Regions from separate parts of the Homo sapiens genome. Here all the other regions are linked to region 2. The links are contacts of gene promoters, found by promoter capture Hi-C in blood cells and fetal thymus (Javierre and others, 2016). All regions are on one chromosome and are shown on one strand. The core of a region is centred on a gene start or on the middle of the fragment in contact, and the rest is flanking DNA. Distances in the headings are between cores, read along the strand shown. Region 1 overlaps COBLL1 (cordon-bleu WH2 repeat protein like 1). Region 2 holds the start of GALNT3 (polypeptide N-acetylgalactosaminyltransferase 3). Region 3 has its middle 62 kb from the start of SLC38A11.

The links. Contacts are between HindIII fragments. The CHiCAGO score rates a contact against its expected background, and 5 or more counts as called.
Region 1: a fragment that was not itself captured here is called in contact with the fragment with the promoter of GALNT3 in region 2 in 1 of 17 cell types (naive B cells); the score reaches 5.1 in naive B cells.
Region 3: a fragment that was not itself captured here is called in contact with the fragment with the promoter of GALNT3 in region 2 in 4 of 17 cell types (total B cells, naive B cells, neutrophils and 1 more); the score reaches 14.2 in total B cells.

The regions. Positions count from the first base shown.
Region 1 is chr2:164,835,233-164,838,713 of GRCh38, reverse strand. The region is part of intron 2 of COBLL1 (cordon-bleu WH2 repeat protein like 1); the gene reads left to right. Among named protein-coding and RNA genes, the nearest start is that of COBLL1, 4.8 kb to the left of the region's middle. The HindIII fragment of the contact is 169 bases long and covers 1,500-1,668 here.
Region 2 is chr2:165,791,796-165,795,566 of GRCh38, reverse strand. GALNT3 (polypeptide N-acetylgalactosaminyltransferase 3) reads left to right here and starts at 1,320. Exons shown (of 11, transcript NM_004482.4): 1 at 1,320-1,552. It overlaps LOC124906086, which reads right to left and starts at 1,981. Exons shown (of 6, transcript XM_047446887.1): 1 at 1,775-1,981; 2 at 1,230-1,648; 3 at 488-767. The coding sequence starts at 1,981. RefSeq lists silencers at 1,378-1,527, 1,598-1,687 and enhancers at 758-1,663, 1,664-2,570. The HindIII fragment of the contact is 5,078 bases long and covers 1-2,385 here.
Region 3 is chr2:165,015,988-165,019,668 of GRCh38, reverse strand. No RefSeq gene overlaps it. Among named protein-coding and RNA genes, the nearest start is that of SLC38A11, 62 kb to the right of the region's middle. The HindIII fragment of the contact is 1,743 bases long and covers 1,405-3,147 here.

The sequences.
Region 1 (3,481 bases), core at 335-2,834, 960 kb after region 2:
CATTGTTGTAACATGTCATTTTAACATAGCACCAAGTTTTGTTCTCCACATTTTATAAATGAGAATCTGAAGCTCAGAAACACTGAGTGTGTTGAAGTCCCAGCAAATTAGTAGTAAAACCAGAAGAAAAACTCCAAGTGCCTAGTTCATTTTGTTAATTGCTTTTTATCTTTTCTTGACCATGGTATGATATAACATACCATGACGTTATACATTTTAACGGATAACTTATATTTAACCATTAACTCTGTAATATTTTAATACATTTCAGGAAAAATGTAGTTGATATCCTTATCTTCACTTTTATTAATTCTATGATAAATTAGCCCATTCAGGGAATGAGTATTTTAGGAAAATAAAATTGTTTTATGGCCTCTCAGCTGCTGCTTTTTCTTTGAAACATTCTAAATAATAATTGTAACATCAAAAGGGATAGTTTGAAGTTTGTTTGGTGCCTTCACACATTTAACTCGCATTTAGCATTCTACGACATTGTGAATTATATGGGTTGGGTGTCATTTTCTTTTCAGTGGAAGCAATGGTGTGCAGAAATAGTGGCTGCCGTAGGGTCTGTGCTGGTGAAGTCCCTGCCTTAAAAGGGTCTGATCCTGTGGTCATCTTGAATGTCTTTCATTTTGGCCTCTACTGTACTGCTTTAATCCCTTACCATTCTAGATTAGATCCCTTTCTTTTGAGACAGGCTGGAGTCTTGCTATGTTGCCCAGGCTGACCTTGACCTCTTGGGCCCAAGTGATCCTCCCACCTCAGCCTCCTGCATGGCCGAGACTACAGTCACAAGCCACTGTGCCTGGCTTTAGATCACTTTCTTAGTAACATGCAGAAGTATCCACTTTATATTTGTTGTTCTGTATCTTATGGGCTTCTTTTTGGAATTCGTTATGAGGTTAAGAGTTTAGATATCAAAAGACATTGAGTCACAACAGTTTCGGTTTTCCTTCGAGAAAAAAGATTGCATGCAACTTTATATATATTCAAATGTAATATGTACATTCATATATAATTACATATTTTATGTATACTATACATATACATACATATATACTCCTATCTAATTCATGTATATATGTTTTCATATGTATGTGAAAGTTGACTGGTTTAACTTACATAGTGATCTAGATGAAAAATGATAAATCATTTTTATATTTGTTTCTATGAAGTGGAAATCCTAGGTTGGTTTGCGTTTTTTTTTTGCAGAGAGCAAAAATGTTGGAGACACTGGTTGGAAAATTGAAATGCTGCATTGGAGAAGAGAGCGATAGTCAAAAGTAATTTCCTTCTCTAACGTGGATATCCAATTAGTAAATTTATTTAAGTTTTCTATATTAGTACTTAGTAAAGTGACATTAATCACTTAGAAAAAGCAACATGATTGCTGACATCAACTTGGGTGCTTATCTTTGGAACTAGTGCTTATGTTCTTTACTTGCCCAGATATGCTTTAAAAAAAAAAATCCTTCGAAATTTAAATGTCAAAAGCTTAATTGACCTTGCTCTGAGGGATCTTAATATTTTGATTCTGAAGCACATTTTCAGGAATGTACAGAGGGGACAAAAGCTCTCTTTATCATTTTGCAGCTTTGGAGCTATGGAGTTAATTGAAGGCATACGAAAAATTAAAGAATGATTTAACAGCTGCTTTCTTAAGCTTTTGTTGAGGAGTGTTATTGGTTCTAAAGTTTCACTGATTGTATGAACTGAGTTCTTGAATACTTGAAGTTGAGTGACTTCTCTGAGGTTTCAACATGGGAGTCATCTGGGATACTTTCACACGAATTCTTGGGCTCTCATGCCCCCACCCATTCTGATTTTAATTCTCTTGGTCTGGGACCAGGGGATGGCTAGTTTTAAAATGCTGCTCAGGTGATTGTAGTGTGTGACCAGATTTGAGAATCATTGATTAAGTAGATATCAATAGCTGACATGGAGCTGATGCAAAAAAGAGAATAGAGGCTGTTACTAATCATTTATAGGGAACTCAAGATTGTAACTTTAGCATTATTTTGCCTTTTGAAAGATTCCATGTAGCTGCTTTGCAATATTATTTTTAAAGCTTTTGCTACTTCTTTTTGAATAAGTATATTAACTTCATTTTACAATGAATGAAACTGAGGATCAGAGAGCTTAATTAACACATTGAAGGTCATACAACTCTAAGGAATGGAAGAGTATTAGAAACAAGCTCTGATTCCAAACCTATGCTTTTCATAGTGCTATGTTTGCTACCATGGATTATACTGAATGGCTAAAAATGATTTTTATTTAAAGTGGCCTTATAAAAGCATTATCTTGATTCTTTTTAAAATTATGTTTACATTTTATATTTAAAAACTATAAATTTCAATGCATATAAAATGTCTAGCATTTAAAAGGAGATTAATTATTTGGCTTATGTCTTCAAAGTAATGTGTAACATATTCCTGTGTATGGTATGATGTAATTTAACTCATAGTAAACTGGCAGTTTTTTTCATCATATGACAAAGTCTATACTTATTTTTTGATATTAGGCAGCTATTAAATGTATAACAATATTTCAAAAGTAGGATTTTTGATTACTGAATAACAAAAATGAAATTATTTATTAAAAATGCTATACTTGCCCTTCAAAATCAATTACCTCTACATGAGTTAGAGGATATTGAATAACAATATTATGACCTTATATTTGTACTGAAACGCCAGATGTGTTAATATAATAATAAATGCCAAACTTCATGTTATTAAGACAACTACTTTTAATTAATCAGTCAAAAACTCCTGAACTCTTACTTTATATAAAACATATTTTTCTAGGTACTGGGAAATAGGCTTCTAATCTTAAGAACTTCACTACAGAAATTATATGTATCTGTAGGAATAAAATGAACATGATGTTAGTGTATAAATGGTACTTTGTTACTGGCTTAAAACATTATGTCTATGCTTAGAATTTAAAATGCAACAGCCTAACTTATGGGTCAGCAAACTATGTCCTGAAAGTCAAAACAGCCCTCTACCTGCTTTTTTATCCCCCTTTTTCTCCATTGTGGTAAAATATGCATAGCATAAAATTTACCATCTTAGCCATTTTTAACTGCATGGTTCAGTGGTGTTAAGCACATTCATATTGTTGAACCATCACCACCTTCCATCATTATAACTCCTTCCATCTGGCAAAACTGAAACCCTATACCCATTAAACAATAACTTCCCCATTCCACTTTCTCCAGCCCCTGAAAACCACCATTCTACTTTGTCTCTGATTTTGACTACTCTAGGTACCTCTTACAAGTGAGATCAAAGTCTGTCTTTTTTTGACTGGCTTATTTCACATAATGTCATACATGTTGTAGTATATATCAGTACTTTATTGCTTTTTATAGCTGAATAATATTCCATTGTATGTATAGATCACATTTTGCTTATCCATCCATCAGTGGATACTTGGGTTGTGTTCACATTTTAGTTATTGTGAATAGTGC
Region 2 (3,771 bases), core at 71-2,570:
TTACTAAAGTCTTAAACCCTAACTCATAGATGTCCTAGTATAAAATAGCACTATGGATGCTAAAACCAATGTCTTAGAGTAGTCAAATACTAAAGATACACTTGTTGATACTATACTAAACTGTATTTTAAACCTTATTTTTAGGTCACGCATAGCACTAATAAAACAGTGAATAAGCACCATAAGAGCATGTCAAAATGTAGGAGGAAGGCCACAACTAAACTTCATAGTAAAACCTACCACCATGTGATTAAACACGACACCAAAAAGTTTTTAGCTAGTTTTCTATTTATATCCCTAGATATCTTTGGGATAGGGCCAAAGAAATGAGTTCATAGAAAGGTATAAAGGCCATTTTAAGTCCTGGTTTTGGGTGTGTCAATGTTTGTTGCAGCAGCAGAAGGAAGGCTGAAACAGAAAGTTGTGTCATAAATGGAACAAATACTGTTTAACAATTTTTTTTTGTCTTAAAAACAGCAAAACCCACCATCTTCCTGGAGTCTGCGTTGTTCTCTTCCAGAATAGATGTTGAGCTTTTAAACAAACCTGCAGTAGAAGCAAGCCCTCTCCAGGAAATCCCAATCTCTTTCCAAACAGGGACAGCAAAGGTTCTCTCTGTTGTGGCTGTTTTTCCCTCTCTTCTGGGAATTGGTTTGCCTTCTGAGAGCATCCCAGGAAGGGGAGGTGCGCCCCAAATTGGCGAGGCTCTGCCAAATACCAAAGGCTCTTCTTTGGAAGAAGACTCCTCCTTTGGACGTGAGGCGCCCCTACCAGAGCGCCCGCGTACAGAAACGGAAACCACTAGCTGCGCTGAAGTGAGTCAAGTGATGAAATCAAGACTACACGGGAAGGAAGCTCACGAAACCTAACTGGTGACAGAAGCTGCTGAACCCTGCCCGAAGAAACCACATGAGCCAGCAGTTGCTGCCCTCCCGAAGTGGTCCTCGGAGGCAGCGCACCCCTTCATTTTGGCGAACCGAGGAGGAAGGGAGGAACCGTGTGGGGGAAATCTAGAACTTCTGGTTCCCCAAGGACCCAGCAGACTGTGTTCTGGCTACAAGGTGATCACTGCCACCAGGTCAGTGCAGGATTCCTCCAATGTAGATGGGCCGGGAGCCACAACTTGCGCGGAGCAGCAGCCTCGCCGACCACTCAGAGAGAAGCCGCGCGACAGCCAGGCTTGGCCCGGACGGCGCCCCCACCCTGCGCGCGCGATCCAAGGTTCTCACCTGGAGCGCTCAGGTAGGGCTGGGGCGGGGCGGGAGGCTGGCGCGCAGGCGCGGAAGTGGGGCCTCGCCCCTGCCGACGTCGCAGGCTGGAGCTCACCTGGGAGACTCCAAGTGGAAGCCGAGCCTCGGTTCTGCCTCTCCAGGCAACGCGGGAGGCCCAGCGGGAAGGCAGGAGGCGGCGGCGGAGGAGGAGCTCTACTGAGCCGCAACTGTGGCGACAGCAACCGGAGTCGCAGCCGCCGCCACCTGCACCTGGCGCCTAGCCCACGTCCAGCGCCTGCCCGGCCGCCGCTTCCCGCCACCCTGCCCTGCCCACCCGCCAGGTAAGCCGGCGGCAGGCGGAGGGAGACGCGGTACCCCTGGGCTGCGTTAGAGCAGGCGGGAGGACGGCCGCAGGGGTTCACGTGTTGGGGACAGGGCTACGGTCCAGGTGGCCGGTTGGAGACGGTCTCGAGAGCAGTGTGTCGGTTGCCCCTGGAGAGATCCCGAAAGGGGCGCCCTGGGCCAAGGGGCAGGTGGCGCCTCGGGGGGGAGCCCGGTCACACCCTCTCGCCCACGGTGCCCCCGCCAGTCCCTATGGGGCGGCCCCTGAGGAGCTGGACGGAGACCAAAGACCTGGTGGCCCCGGACTTGCCCTTGGGAGGGTCGCAGCGTGGGGACCCTGAGAGGGAGGGCCCGGCGGGAGGCGGGCGCGCTTCCACTCCGGCTAGCAGGTTGCCTGTCTCCTCCAGCCTCTCTGCCCGAGAGGACATCCCGCGACAGCGAAAGACATGGCTTTGCCAGGCAACTTTCCTAGCCGGGGACCCCAAACAGTTCTAGGCTGCAAACCGCGGCCGCCGAGCCATTTAAATGGTTTCCGAGTGGTTTGGAAAGGGCTCTGTGGCCGGGACGCGGACACCCCTCTCTCTCTGTTTCGACTCTGCACTTTTCCGGGTGCGCTCTCCAGGCCAGAGTTGGGCCCACTTTCCTGATCAATGGAGAAGAGTTCTTTTCTTCCGTGGCGGGAAGAAATCCAACTGCCACGCACCAACCACTCACCATCTCGTTAGAGGACCTGTTGACTTAAGGACCTGCATATCGCGGCTATGGTTTGCCTGTGGCATATGACTCAAAGGTTCAAAAAAACATTGTTTCAGGATCCTGCCACGTCTAAGCTTGGGTGTGCCAGGCCCAGATTCCTTTCCCTGCCTAATTAGGCTTTTCTGAAGCCTAAGAATTGAGGGTGAAACTGGCGCTTACCTTAGACTTTTATTTCCTTCTCTTTCCAACTCATCAAAGAAACTATTTCTGTTTTAAGAACCCCATCGAGTTACCAATATTTCCGATTCTTGAAAACGTTAACATAACTTGCTATAGAAGTTACACTACATAATGAAGACATTTACAGTCAAATTCTATAGCTAAAAAATATTAAAGTGACAGCATTTTAATTAGAAAATCTCTGCTTGTGGGAAAATCTGTTGCTTCTTTTATTGTATATATTTTTCTTTGCGTTTGTGGCTAAAATCCATGAGGTTAAAGTCACACGCTGCCATTAGATTCTTTTTTTTAATTTAACTTTTAATATCTGAAATCTAGTGCACATGTTAAACTTTCCAAGCAATTTGTACCGAGAATCAATCTTTATATATTGCTTTAACCAACATTTTTACGTAGAAGTTTCTGATAATAATAACAATTCCATTGTTTTGTTCTATCTCCACACATTTTAAAAATATTTTTTAAATTGCACGTTTTACTTAAAATGCCTGATGCAACATGTAGTGGGGTTATTTTTCTTCTTCTTTTTAAGATTAGATGGAAATCTAAAAGCCAACCACAGCATAACATGATGTAATTATTAATTCAATCACCACTTTTCTACATTTCTTAAAAGGATCTCACCTGACCTCTTAATCTTGTCTCCATACAGAGAAACAAATGTGCTAAATACTGTTTAAATATGAGATATAGGAGTTGTTCCCTGAATTTTGAATATTAGTCTTCATTACTTACTAGGCAGATGTTACCAGACTGTCTTTCCTCTTAACCTCTAGTGAGAAATGTAACATGTTTTCATTAGCTAGAGTAACAGTGTAACTTAATCTATCTGTTAAATAGGAAAAATAATACTTTCCTAGATTAAGATAACAAAACCTTAAAAACAATCAGGAGTATCTTCCAGCCCTAGCATTCTCGAGATCCCTTTCTCACTTTGGAGATTCAATACTCAAACCATCCATTTATGAAAAATTGAAGCCAAGAGAGGTATTCTAACTTCATTTCACTCAGAGATGGCATGATCATTCCAGTGGCTTGACTCATGACTCCTGTATCTTACTTTTCACCACCCACATCCTCACTTACCATAAGATGTTTATCTTTTTTCTTTCATATAATTTGTAAGGCCTTTGTAATTACAGAATTGTCCATTGCTCTTTCTTCACTCTGATTTACCCTCATTTCTACTTGTCCAAATATTGCCTGACTTCGTGGAAACTACCCAGTGAAGGCATCATGCTCCTCTCATTGTGGAATAGCATGCATATTGATGATGCCATGT
Region 3 (3,681 bases), core at 1,027-3,526, 780 kb after region 2:
CTTCACACAAGAGCTGGCCATTTAAAAGTGTGGCACTCCTCTTCTCTCTCTCTTGCTCCCTCTCTTGCCATGTGACATGCCTGCTCCACTTCGCCTTCCACCATGACTGGAAGCTTCCTGAGACCTTATCAGAAGCAGATGCTGGTGCCATGCTTCTTGTACAGTCTGAAGAACCATGAGCCAAAATAAAGCTCTTTGATTTATAAGTTACTCAGCCTCAGATATTCCTTTACAGCAACACAACATGGACTAATAGAAGTGGCAATCATGTGTCAGACCTTCTCCAGAATTAAATTTGAAAAAAAAAAAAAACACATTGTTATAAATTCAGGGATCTACTATGTAAATCATACAATAATAATTAGAACAGAATTTTTAAACTCCATAGTAAGGTATCTGTACATTTCTCAAGTTATTTATACATTCAAGACTTTCAGAATTAAAAAGAGACTGATACAACATGGCTATATGAATTTAGTCACTAGCTTCCAAAAATCTGTGACATTATTACAAGATGAGAAAATAAAAGTGAATTGCCAATTTTGCTGTCTAAATTGACCAACAATTTAAAAGGTTAAAAGATTAAATACACAAAGCTCTTAGTGTCTAAAGGACATTTTGCAGTTCTGAGAAAGATAATTATTCTATATTGGTTTTTGAAAGCTTAGAGTCTAGCAAATTATGTATAGGTTTTTCAGATATATACAAACAGTATGACCTATCTACACTTTGTTTAAAAAAAACTATATTCATTAAATATTGGCCCTTCTTACTGACCACTCATTATATTTTATCATTATGTAAAATGCAGTAAGAGCAATACGCTAGGTGCCGGACAGAGCTGCAGATCCAAAGTAATTTTTTAAATGGAAATTAATTCAGCAGTCTAGGGAAATACTATTACAAGCAATGCCCTGCTGAATCTCATTAAATCAATTTGGAAAGACATATAGTTGGAAAGGTAAAAATAAATCAATAAGATTAAAAAGGAAGTCTATGCTTTACAGAAAAGAGAGAGAAAGAGAGGAGTTATATTATCTGGTTGTTAAGTGACAGGATTTAAGTAGGACTGATTTGTCTCCCTTATAGGGAAAAGCAGTTTTCAGGACTAGAGCAAAATACTGTTTGCACATGGCCCAGTTTGTACAAACTGCATTTCCCTCGGCAAGACTTCACTCCATCTTTAAAAATGGAGATGAGCTTCCACCAGAGGAGCTATTGCCTAGCAACAAGATGCTAAGAAGGCGAAGGCGAGCTGAGTCCTCTCTATAAAGAGCTCCCTCTCCCTCTCTCTACCACACTGCAATGATTTCCAGTGCAGACTGATGCCCTTGAGGGAGTCACCTTAACGACCAGAAAGCTATAGGAAAAGAATTTTGCTAAGATCACGATAAAGTCTAAGCTTCTTTTGTTTTTCAGCAGACATTCGATGCTCACTCCTCTCTGTGCTTAGCCCTACACAAAGCATTTTCACAAACGTGTTTTTATTTCCTTTAAGCCCCTAGCTGTCACCAGTATTGAGTCATATGACTGACTAGCTGACTAGCTATAGACCTAAGATCTATCTGGTCTTACCTGAGATTGTCAAATGTTTGCTGAGAAGCACTGATGTCCATCATCTTTGCTATTGCCTCAAATGTTAAACTCCTACCCCTACGCTAAAATAGGCAGGGTGGCAAATCCTCTTTTAACCTCTTTTTCACAGTTTGAATAGTTCTCTGCTCCTCCTATTCCCCACTCCCACCATCTTGATAAAGATTCTAAGTATTTATTGTTTGTTTTTTAACGGGCTTCTACTAAGCACATAGTACTAAGTACTAGAGACAAAATTAGGAACAAGACATAGTTCCCATAGGAGCCTACAGAGGACCATAGGAGTAAACAGGAGAAGCACAGAATGGCCAAGAAAATCGAGAAGCAGTGGAGAAGGCTGCCCAGAGATGGCACCTGTACCCTGAGACCTGCAGTACCCACAGAAGTCAGTCTTGCAAAAGGATGGGCGTGGCTGGAAAGTGGCCTGGGATGATGGTAGGGAAAATAACATTCTGGGCAGAGAGAACAAAGGCAGTGCTAAGTGACAGGGAGCCTGAAGCCTAGGGAATATGTTACTTTCTATGCTGTAATTCAATAGTAATAATTTTTTCACAATATCCAAATTGACTCACTACCTTTTTATTGCCACCTAGGATACAGCCAAAGACCGTTCACAAATATGATACAAAAGCTATTGTTATTTCATCAGTGTTTTATTCAAACTGCATTTAATCAAAATGTGCTTCCGTATGTTTCAAAATGGCATCAGGGCTTGGACTACGCTCAAAACAATAATTCTTAAGTATATAGGACAATATAATAACGTGATTACTAAACAAATCTGTTGTCAAATTGTAACGACCGAAGAAAAATTAGAAAACGTATTCTGGGCAAACCAGATACAACTCTTGCAAAAGTCTGTATTCACATGTTCTTACCTATTTTTAGATACAGGTCTGATTCTTTTTTTAAAAGAACAGAGTAGGCAAATCAATAGACTAGGATTGTTTAAGGAGATACAAACAACGTGTGATTTAATTTTTGAAGAGGTGTTCTGAAAACACTACGCCCAAAATTTGAGCTTCGGGCTCTTCTGATTTGCTATTCAGGGGCTTCTACGCTGCCTCTCTGCTGCCCTCACGTGAAATGACAGTGTGTAGCAGCGCAGAAAATACCTTAAAAACAAACTCAGGACGACCTCAACGTAGAACTATGAAAAGGGAGAGATGGCGTGATGAGCACAAGCCTTTCTCACAGATTCCAGGAATCTGGATTTGTTGTGACTCAATCACTGTGCAGATGGGTTTCTACTGAATAATATTTTCAGGACTTGTTTCAAAGACAGGAGAGTTTTTTCAACATCAGAAGAGAGCTCAAAATGTATATTTAGAAAGAGGAAGGATGGAGAAGCAGGATTTAATTGGCTAATTAAGTCTCCAACTTGTACAATTACAGAACAATATTGCTCAGCCAAGAACTAAACCTTGCTACATTTTTTTCACCTTAGAAGTGTTACACCATTCTCTTGCTAGTGGAATGATGCACATCAGGGACTTCATCTAACCTTCCTTGTTTACTGAAGCTAAATATACCTACTTCCTTTAAAAGTAAGCTTAAAAAACCAACTTGTATTTCATACAAAATATAGAAGAAAATTTCCATTTTTGAGCTAACTTTTCCAGACTGCCCTTCAAATATGCCAATCCTTTCTTTTTTAAAAAATTCTTTTCCATGCCTTCGAGATTGTAGTCACTAAGTAGTCTCACAGCTTCATACTCACACTTCTATAGACAATTTGCAAATGGCTTCTCAGCCTCTTATACATTCAACAAACTTTGAATGTCTCCTCACAATTTGAAAATAAAAAGATATTTCCTTCTGTCCTGAAACCTGCTTCCATCCTGATTTTCCTATATTCTCTATAGTCTCATCATTTTTCCAGGCTTACCACTCAAAAGTTATTTTCTAATCTTTTTTTCTCTTTCCTCCATATTCACTTTCCAGCTAGTCAATGCTGGGAACCTTGCCATGAATTTACAATACATTGGAGGTTCCTGGAAAAGTAGAGGCTTAATACAGATTTACAGCATGTGTGACTTGATGGATGAATGCAAAGGAACAGAGAGATATTTCATAAGTAATCATAAC